2 separate regions of the Homo sapiens genome follow, and region 1 is linked to region 2. Evidence: promoter capture Hi-C in human tissues and cell types (Jung and others, 2019). All regions are on one chromosome and are shown on one strand. Each heading gives the region's core, a stretch centred on a gene start or on the middle of the fragment in contact. The rest is flanking DNA. Distances are from core to core; before and after follow the strand shown.

Evidence for each region. The method cuts DNA at HindIII sites, captures the fragments that hold promoters and counts their contacts. A contact is called where the count stands out against the background at its distance.
Region 1: a fragment that was not itself captured here is called in contact with the fragment with the promoter of GJB5 in region 2 in 1 of the 25 tissues and cell types used here (heart left ventricle).

The regions. Positions count from the first base shown.
Region 1 is chr1:34,613,950-34,618,986 of GRCh38, reverse strand. LOC105378641 (a long non-coding RNA gene) reads left to right here. Exons shown (of 9, transcript XR_001737964.2): 2 at 3,292-3,423. Among named protein-coding and RNA genes, the nearest start is that of MIR552, 53 kb to the left of the region's middle. The HindIII fragment of the contact is 3,425 bases long and covers 766-4,190 here.
Region 2 is chr1:34,753,292-34,758,282 of GRCh38, reverse strand. It overlaps GJB5 (gap junction protein beta 5), which reads right to left and starts at 3,236. Exons shown (of 2, transcript NM_005268.4): 1 at 3,088-3,236; 2 at 1-976. The coding sequence starts at 952. The coding sequence ends at 131. The HindIII fragment of the contact is 2,696 bases long and covers 1,672-4,367 here.

The sequences.
Region 1 (5,037 bases), core at 1,229-3,728, 140 kb after region 2:
TCTCCCTACACCTCTTTCAGACACAGTGGACTGGCTCTGTCCTGACTATCTCCTTCAGATTACTGGGTCTCAGTCTAGCTGCCTTTTCCCCCAGAAGGGGCCTCAGACACCCCATCTTGCATTTGCAAAGTCTCCATTCAGCACAGCTCAGCACATCTCCCTGTGCCCTCCTCAATTAAAAATGACACAAAAGTAAAGGAGACACATAGCTCTTTGAAAAAACTTCCAGATCCAAACTTTTTAATGAAGATGGAATATAAAGAGCCTGTCTTATCTGTCCGATGTGACTCCCATGTGCTGTAATCAAGCAGAATTAATTAAAAGCAATCAAGTGGCTAGTTGGCATAGGGGCCTGCGGCATGAGTCTTTCATCTTAGCCACAAGAATGCTCTTCCTGAGGGGGCGGGGTTGCAGGCAGAGAGTTGGGTGAGCCCATTGCTAGAGGGAAAACCAGCCCACTAGCAAGTGTTCAATGCCAAGGCATGACCCATGCTGCTGGAGTGAGTTTAGTGCAACTCAAAGAGGTGTTTCCACATTGTGTATGAAGGGTCCAGTTCAGGGCTTCTTAAACTCTCAACCTATGGACATCTGGGGCTGGATACTTCTTTGTTGTGGGAGCTGTTCTGTGCATTATAGGATGTTTTGTGGCATCCCTAGCATCTACCCACTAGATGCCAGTGCAACCCCTGCCTAATAGCAACAAGTAAAAATTTCTCCAAACATTACCAAATGTCCCCAGGGTAGGGGTTGGGGAGCAAAATTGTCCACAGTTGAGAACTGCTGGCCCAAACTAGAGTTTCCTTCAATAAAGGTATAGCTAGACTAGGACACCTTTCAGTCACGGTGGCCCCTGGCACCCTGGGTTAGCTTAAAGATGACAACGACCCTCTAGCTTGCAGTAAGTTGGAAAATGTTATTATCCCAGTGGGGCCAAAGAGCCAGTCACATGGAGAGAGGCAATGTGAAGCCTCAAGTCTAAAGGGGAATGATTCTTCCCTAGACTTATATAGAATGCAAGAAATTCCTCCCCCCGGAAATATTTTACAACCACTGCCAAGTATTGCACAATCTCTCCTAACATCAGCCACCTCCTCATACTGTGACATTTCCCAGTACAGAGTGACAAATGGGGGCAGGAAAGGGGTTGTGGTGGTGGGATATCAGAGGACTTTCATCTCCAATTTGGCAATACTTTTTCTCACTGGTCCCCTCTGTCTTTTTGCTTACAAATATCTTATAGAATCTTGGAATATTTGGCTCCTGTTATACTCAAAGGATATGAGCTTTGCTAGACTTTTCAACAACAAGAGTGTGACTTAAATAGCCCTGTCTTGGTCCAGCAACAATAGATTAAGCGAATGGTATCATATCCTACATAACAACCAGGAGAAAAGTGGAAGGCATGCTAAGGTACCACGGGAGTGCCAACTTTCACCCAGTGGCCCCACTTATTAGATAAAGAAGGACAGAGAGTTGAAAGATTGCTTAATGCAGGGTGGCAGGGGCTGAAGCATTGCTGGGTCCTAAAGAACAAAGGAGGAGGAGTTTCTGTCCGAGCTTGTTTGTGCAGCGTAAGTAGAGAGTCCATTAGAGCTCCCCTCTTCCCATGATTGTCTGTCTTTTTCAGCCTCCCTTTCGGGCTGGATGCCTGCAGAATTGGGGAGGTGTGGGGACATCCTTTCTGGATATCCACAGAAGGAATAGGTGACATTTGAAGGTGGCCAGGAAGCAGAACATGTCTAGAACCCCTGTTATGGGCCAGGCACAGTGCTCATATTTCATTAACCCAAACAGCCCTGAGAGAGAAATAGCATTACCCCTTTACAGTGAAGGAAGACGAAGCAACTAGAAAGTTGCAGAGCCAGGATTCAAACCCAGTCTCCTGACTCCAAAGTTTATGGTCTTTCTCCCGTATCTGCTTCTTTCCTTAAGCTCATAAAATAGACTTAAGGATGTGGGTCTCAGTGCATTGAGGTCAAGGGCTGTTGATGGGCAGGATCCCAATTCCAGAGGAAGCGGTGACAGAAGTATACCTCAGGCTCTGGTCTACTTTTGGTCCCTTCTGAGTTTCCTTGGGGGTCACAGCTTCACTGCAAAACTGGGATACAGCTTAAAGAGCAAATTGACGGGTACCTTTGCCCTTCCTGACACCTCCCTGGGCCACACTGCCATTCCTCATCTGTTACTTTATTTCCAAAGAGTTGTTCGGTCCAAGAGTTACCTCCAACTCACCCTTCTTTGGTCAGGTCCCGAAAAGATGCCTTCACATCCTAACCCAGAACGTGTGAATGTGACTTTATTTGGAAAAAGTGTCTTTGCAGATGTAACTAAGTTAAGGATCTCAAGATGAGATCATCTTAGATTATCTGGGTGGGCCTTAAATCCAATGATAAGTGACTCCATAAGAGACAAAAGAGGAGAATTCTGGGAGAGAAGAGGAAAAGGCCATATGAAGATGGAGGCAGAGATTGGAGTGATGCAGCCACAACACAAAGAATGCTGACAGTCACTGGAAGCTGGAAAGGGCAAGGAAGTACTCTCCGCTAGGGTATTTGAAGGGAGCATAGCCTTGCTGACAGCTCAATCTCAGACTTCTGGCCTCCGGAACTGGGCACAAATAAATTTCTGTTGTTTTAAGCCACCAAGTGGCTTATGTGTTATGGCAGCCCCAGGAAATCAATACAGGTTCCCAAAGTTAAATATAAGGTCATTGCAATTTGCTACTGCTCCATCAGCCTGCATTGATGGGATGCCTGGTACATTTGTGGCCTCCTCCCCCGGTTGCAATGAGGGGCAAGAGGGTGCCCCCGAGGCACTTGAAAGCCATTCACAGCCAGGAAACACAAAGTATAAGCTTATATGAGGCTAGAGAGTTGGCCTGAGGCTTGATGCCAAAGGGCCTTAAATCCACGTTAAAGATTTGGAATTCATCTCTAGGATCTTGAGAAGCTCCTGCAGGTTTTAAGGTGTATAATGAATCAATGAGTGTGCGTTTTAGAATGCACACGCTGGGTGCCAGATGGGAGATAGAGAGGGCAAGATTCCCATGTGCCTCCATCCAGCTCTGCTCTTCACCTCTAACTCCAAGTGACAGCCCCTAGGTGGGCTGTCTCTGCTTGGTCAAGGAGACAGACACACTTGGGAGAAGAGTTAGCCAGCCGGAGGAAGTCAGGTTCAGAGTGGTGGACTGGTGAAGCTCTCCAGGCACTAAACTTTTATTCATCACCAAGGTCTCTCAGCTAGTAGTCTATTTCCATGAAAGTCATCACAAGATTTTTTTTTTTTTTAAAGCAGGCCAATTAAATCAAGCATATTCCTCAGTATCATGGAGAGACTGGAGGTTAGAGACACCAAAACCATCCCTGGCTTAATGACTTTGGGATCCCTGGGCCCCTCCATGCAGCAGAACGGCAATTAACCAAGGTGGGTGACTTTCTTTCTGCTTGTGTTGACAATTGGAAACAGAAGCAGCTTTTGGGTCTGGGGTAGGAACCAGAACTGAGTTAATACTTTAGTTTGCCCTGAGAATAAAAAAAGAATGATAGGGCTGAATGGGGGCTCCCCACTGCCTCTGACTTCCTCAGATCTTACGCTGTGTTCCTCTGCCATGGCTCCTTTATTCCCGGGCCTCCTTCCAAGTTGTTACTTGTCACCTGTCACCTGAGTCACCCTGGAGCCTCACAGCTGATCTTCTGTCTTTTCTTCCTTTCTCACCCATCCTTTACATCAGCCATGGGAAGCTCTCTCTCAGGCACCAGGTAATCACGATTCCAACACACATCCTATTGCCAGTGGGTTCAACCCGAAAGTCTTTAGTCTGATGTTCAGTCTCATCTTTCACTCTTTGTCTTCTGCTCTCTGCTTGCCTACATCTGCTGGAGCTGACACTGTGCCAAATCCTGTCCAGGACCTGCTTATTTCCAGCACTGTCTTTGTTGGGTGTCTGTGCTTGGGACACCTTCCTGTTTCATCTCCATCCAAGCTTTGAGAGACTTTGCAGTATATTCATTAAGTGTGTAGCGCTGGAATCAGACTCTTTGAGTTCATATTCTGCCTCTGTCACTTACATGAAATAAAATATATAAGCTCTTGGCTCAGACCGTGACATAAAATAAGTGTTCAATAACATGCTTGACAGTATTATTTCTCCCGCACATCACTTCTGTTGAATCCCAGTGTTCACTTCTCTCAGGAAGTCTTTCCTGCGTAACATTAACCTGGGCCTCCCTGACCCTGCTCACTCACAGGCAATAAAACCTCCCTTGGAAGCTCGAATCAGGGCAGAGGTCCTTTCAGCATGTCTGACCCCATGGGTGGGTGTGGAATGACTAGCACTTTCTGATTCTCTTTGGTCTGGTACATATTGATGAGCCTCCATTGAACTGCTCTGAATCAAAGCTTTCTCTTAACATCAGTCATGGACCACCCATCCACCCACCATCCATCCATCCACTCAGTCATTCAGCGATATTTTGAACACTTATTATGTGCCAGGAACTGTGCTATGTGTTGGGTATACAACGGAGGAAAAGGCAGACTCTGCCCCACCTTCATGAAGTCATTGTGCAGTAGGGAGAAAGATACTCAGATAGGCAAATATGACACAGAGGGGCCAGTGTTCTGATGAGGGAAGCACAAGGTGCTGAGATAACCCGCAAACCCTAAGGAGAAGCTCTGCAACCCTGCCTTAGAAGATCCCTGGAAGCGATCCAAAGGAAGCAAGTTTAAGCTGAGACCCAAAGAATAAGAAAAATGTTAGCCAAGTGGAAGAGAATTGCTGGTGAAGAGTGTTTTAGTTGAGGAAACTGTGTGTATAAAGACACAGAGGTGAGAGAGGGAATGGCATAGTGGAAAGTTGGGTGAGGTGGTGTGTGTGCCCATGCACCGTGCAAGTGTATGCACGGGTGCCTGTTGGAGGTGAAGGTGAGATGAGGCGGGAGGGGCAGGCAGGGGCCAGGATATGCAGGGACTTACAAACCATGTGAAAGAGTTTTGACTTGCACATCACAGCCATGGAATAAATGAGAAAGTGAGTGG
Region 2 (4,991 bases), core at 1,987-4,486:
AGCGTCTGAATCCTCTCTCTTGCCTGCCCCTACCTCATGGCTTAGCTCCCCCACTCTCAGGTTGCACCTATGAGAGATGCTAGAGCCTCCCCATCCAGGCCCAACCTGCCAGACCAGTCCAGGCAGCCCCTCACAAGATGGTTTTCTTCACATGGTCTCGGGGGCGGTCTGGTAAGAGAGGAGGATGACTGTCTGAGCCCAGAAAGATGAGGTCACCCGAAAGGAGGTCGTCTTGTTTGCAGGAAGAGGTGGTACCGTGGGGGTGATGACCTGTGCACATGGCTTGAGCTTTCCTTGCTGCCAGGCACTCGTGGCATCTCTTGCTCACCAGGTAGATGAGCTCCACGAGGTTGAGCAGGATGCAGATGGCAGCTGTGGCCACCATGAAGAGGGTGAAAATGTTCTTCTCTGAGGGCTTGGAGATGAAGCAGTCCACTATATTGGGACATGGATCTGCGTGGCACTTGACCACAGGAGGGAGGATATATTTGGGGTAGAATGAGTGGAACACATAGAGAAAGGCGATGTCCACGCTCGCCTTGAACACTAGGCTGCAGACATATGTCCACCAGAGCCCACCCCGCTTCTTGCCGGGGTTCAGGTAGAGGCGCCCACTGTTCTCCCCATGGGCTTCTCGGTGCCTCTTCTCCTGAACCTCCCGGTAGGCCACGTGCATGACCACGAGCAGTGAGGGGCATGTCACCAGGATAAGCTGCAGGGCCCAGAGGCGCACATGGGACACAGGGAAGAACTCATCAAAGCAGACGTTGGAGCAGCCGGGCTGGCGAGTATTGCAGTCGAAGTCCTTGTGGTCATCACTCCACACACGCTCGGCCGTCACCAGGTACACCAGCACGCGGAAGATGAAGACCAGAGACAGCCAGATGCGCCCAAAGGCTGTGGAGTACTTGTTGACCCCACTCAGGAGTCCCTCAAAGATACTCCAGTTCATGGTGGACCCACGCGTCAGCTGCTACTGCAGGGAAACAAGAACAATCATTTCCTACATTTATCACAGACTTGCTCTGAGCACTTTGTAGAAATATGTCATCACATTTCATCCTTACCATCACTAGAGGAGCTGGGTTCTACTACTGTCCCCATTTTGTAGAGGGAGGGAGCTGAGGTTTAGTGGCATTATATACAAGGTTACACAACTATTAGGTGCAGGGCTGGGATTTGAGCATAGGTAATTAAGTCCAGAACCCAGCTCTTACCAATACCAGTGGATAAGGGCAGGTCCAGGGAGCCACTCATTCCTCCCCGGGCCTGAGGCTCTGGTCTTGAGGTTCTGCAGAGTGAAGACTGGTGGAGCTGGGACATTCTGCCTGCTCCCTCTGTTTCAACCCTGGCCCTCCTCCTCAGGGGGGCTGAGCCTTGAGATGGTTCTCTCCTTTCTGAGCACTGCTGCCTCTTCTCAGACAGCCCCTTCCCCAGGGGAACCTGCTCTTTGTCCTTTTCTTGGCTCAGGGATGGGACTGGAAAGGAGGCTGGAACCTTGTCCCCAAGCCCCCATCTGGTCTAACACTCTGTAATTAGCCAGGCAGAGTCCTGCTCAAGTGCCACTCAATGCAATCCAGCTGAAAGCTAAAGCAGGCAGCAATAAATTCTCTTCATACAGTAGGTTTCCTAGAGTAACCTGGTATTCCAGTGTTTCCCAAACAGTGTTCCCTGGAACCCTGTCCCATAGGTTGGCAATAGGAGAAGTGAGAGAAGAGGATTCTGTGTCAAGAAAAGTTGGCAAACATTGGGTTTAGTAAAGTTAAATAGGGTTCTTTTGCTCAACCGTGCTAATAAACTCACTAATAAATTCACCAAAAGAGGTATGAAATATGTGGCATTGCCCAAACTCATTTGCCCACAGAAGCCCTTTTCCTCCTGACATAACATTTATCATCTTGTGGAACAGCCTTGTCAAGACATCAAGTGGGAAATGCTGCTCCTGTCAGTTCTGCTGGTGAATTTGGCCTGATGAACTCACAGAATCAGATTCACCTCCGCGTAAGGACTGTGACTGCTAGGCAGAGTAAGGGGTCCCCACTTCCTCACCCGCGAGTCCTCTGCCTGATTCCTGGAGATGGGGGTGTGTCCATTAAGACCCATGCACTGTGGTTTCAACCAACTGTGCACCCTGGGACCCCAAGGAACCTGTCTGCCTAGCCACTAAAGGGCTCATGATGGCCTTCCCATGCTGGTCCAGGCTGAAGCTCACCAGGCTCTCTGGAGCCTCTGCATGATCAACTGCAAAGCAGAGTAGTGATAACAGCCAATATCCATGAAGCATTCATGCCGTGCCAGGCACCGCTCTAAGTTCTTTGTATGAATCAGTACATTATTCCTTCACAGCAACCTTAGGAAAGGGCATATTTTTTATTCCCAATTTACAGATGAGGAAAGAGGAACACAGAGGGATTAATTAACTTGCTCAACGTCACACAGCTAATAAGTGGCAGAGCTAGGATTTGAACCCAGGCAGGCTGGCTCTAGAGCCCACCCTCCGGGAACTGCCCAGCCTTAGGCCTCAGACCCTTTCCTCAAGTTTCAATGAGCTGCCTGCCTGTTTGTGTGCAGACGGATTCTGTCCTTCCCCTTGTGTGTGGATCCTGGATGAGGGTGGCTGGGGGAACCTTTGCCCACCACCCTGTCTCCACACCACCTGCGCCACTTGGACGGGGGATGGGTGGAGGTGGGGGCCGGGGTTGGGGGGAGCTCTGTTTTGAATCACCATCTTGCATGCTCAGTCCTGTCTAAGGTAGGACTCCTGCAGCTTCTCAGGGAACACCCAGGAAGGCCCCGCCCTTAGCCCCAGGGGCTCTCACCCAGCCCATCCCTACTTGGGGAGGAGTGGGGCAGGGCTTTGCAGGCCCAGGCAGAGCTACCCTGCCTGCTGAGCTTCCGGCCTGGCCCCTGCTCCTACCTTTGCCCGGCTGGGGAGACCTGAAAGAACCCAGAGCCCCTTATTCCTCCACCATCAGGACCCAGGGTGGCAGATGTGTCCAGGCCACATCCCACCACTCCCCAGCAGAGAAGTGTCCTCCTGCCACGTATGCCAAGGGGCAGGGCACATGCGGACACAGATGCCCTTACCTGAGTGACTACTCCTCAGGGCTCTCCTGGCTCCCAGCAGCCGGCAATAGGACTCAGCAAGCAGCTTGAATTTCATATCCAGAAGCGGGGAAGGTTTTCGGGGAAGCCCGTTGAAGCCTGTTTCCAGGACAGAGCCTGCCGGGTGTGCTGGCCCAGCCTGGGAGGAGGAGGAGCTGGGACCTGCACTGCCATTGGCTGGGCCCCAGCCTCCCCAGACTGCTTCTGATGAGGCTCAGGAAACTGAGGGGTTCACTCCTCCCAGGGCGCTGAGCCTCGAATCCTGGTATCCTCTCAGGGGAGAGCCACAGGTCCACTCTGACTCCTTGTTCATCCTCCCATCTGTGGGCTTGTGTGGGAGAAGCTGAGGCCTGAATCCCAGCTCTGCCACTTTCTCACTGTGTGATTTCTTGCCTTCTCTGTGAAAGTGGGAAAAGAACAACACCTACCTCATAGGGTGGATACGTGGATTAACCCAGCCTTAGGGGTGAAGTGCTTAGAACAGTGCCTGACACAAGGGAAGCCCTGTCTACAATTGCCTATAATGCGTGTATACTGCCCAGCACAGGCCTGCCGCATGGTATGTCCTCAAAAAAATGTTTCTTCCTCCTCCTTTTCCTTATTCCTAGGCCTTTTCTTTCTGAGATACAGGGAAGGCAGAGGAGAAGGGAGGGAGAGAGAGACGTATGCACTAGAGAAAATCTCATTTGGATGCATGTTGTCTTTGGGTTAAAAAGGCCAAACCCAAGCCAGGCAGGAACCACAGGAGAGGTGGAGAAGGTGGGCAGGGGCACCTGGGGAAAGCTTCTCATTAGTGCACAGACACGGTCTTTTGGCCTAATTGACTTCCAAGGTGCCCTGTATCAGCAGGTCACTTGGGGTCAGGATTCAACAGACAAAGCATCCAGGAGCCACAAACACCTCATGTCCACAAGCAAACACAATGTAGCTTCACATGAGCATACTCTTACACACAGGCCACAATTATGGGCACAGTGTTGCACACACATGCAGCAGTGGCTTTATTTTATTCACTGCTCTATCCCTTGTGCCTAGTATGGTGCCTGGTGTCTTGTCCAGTTAGGCTTCAATTTATATTTATTGAATGAATGATGTGTGAAATGCACACACCCTGCAGAGAGTCACACATTTCTATACTCCATGCTCTTTCCAAAAAGCTGTTGCCAAGTACAGGAGAGAGGAGGCATATAAAGAGATCAGTTACAACATTGTGAGAAGTCCTAGAAAAGACACAGAGAGAGAAGGGAGTTTTAAGTTCTGCCAGAGGGAGAGCCGGAGAAGGTAACATTTAAGCTGGGTCTTGAAGGATGTATAGGAGTTTACCAAGAAGAGATGCTGAGGAGGGGCCTTTGAGGCAGTGGGCACATAGCGTGCAGAGGACCTTTGTGAAAAATAATGGAAGAGCATTGGAGAGTGGGCTGGGTAGTGGTGGGGACACCACATGGCAAGGAGCCTGGAAGGTCAGCAAAGACCTTCCAGACCATGAAGGACCTGGAATGTCATGCTAAGGAGTTTGAATTTATCTTGGGTGCAGAGGGAGGCATGAGGGAATTCTTTTCTTTTTTCTATTTTTACATTTTGTATTGTGCTGAGGCAGGAAAAAGGAAGAGACATGGTCAGATTGGTACATTTGATTCTCATTATTCAAGGTAGTTATAGTCTATGAGTCACCATGAGCACCAAGTTAGTGAATATTGAAGCATTCTTCCTAGAGGACATATGAGGTTAGGTTCCTGCAAGCTTCTGTTTACAATGTGGTTATCAACTGATCAATACAGAAGTCTGTTTTATGTGTGTTTCTGAAGACACCTTGTTTAATATATATTGTTGACTCATTAATATTGGACTCATAGCCAACACCACTATAACTCATGACTGAATGAAGC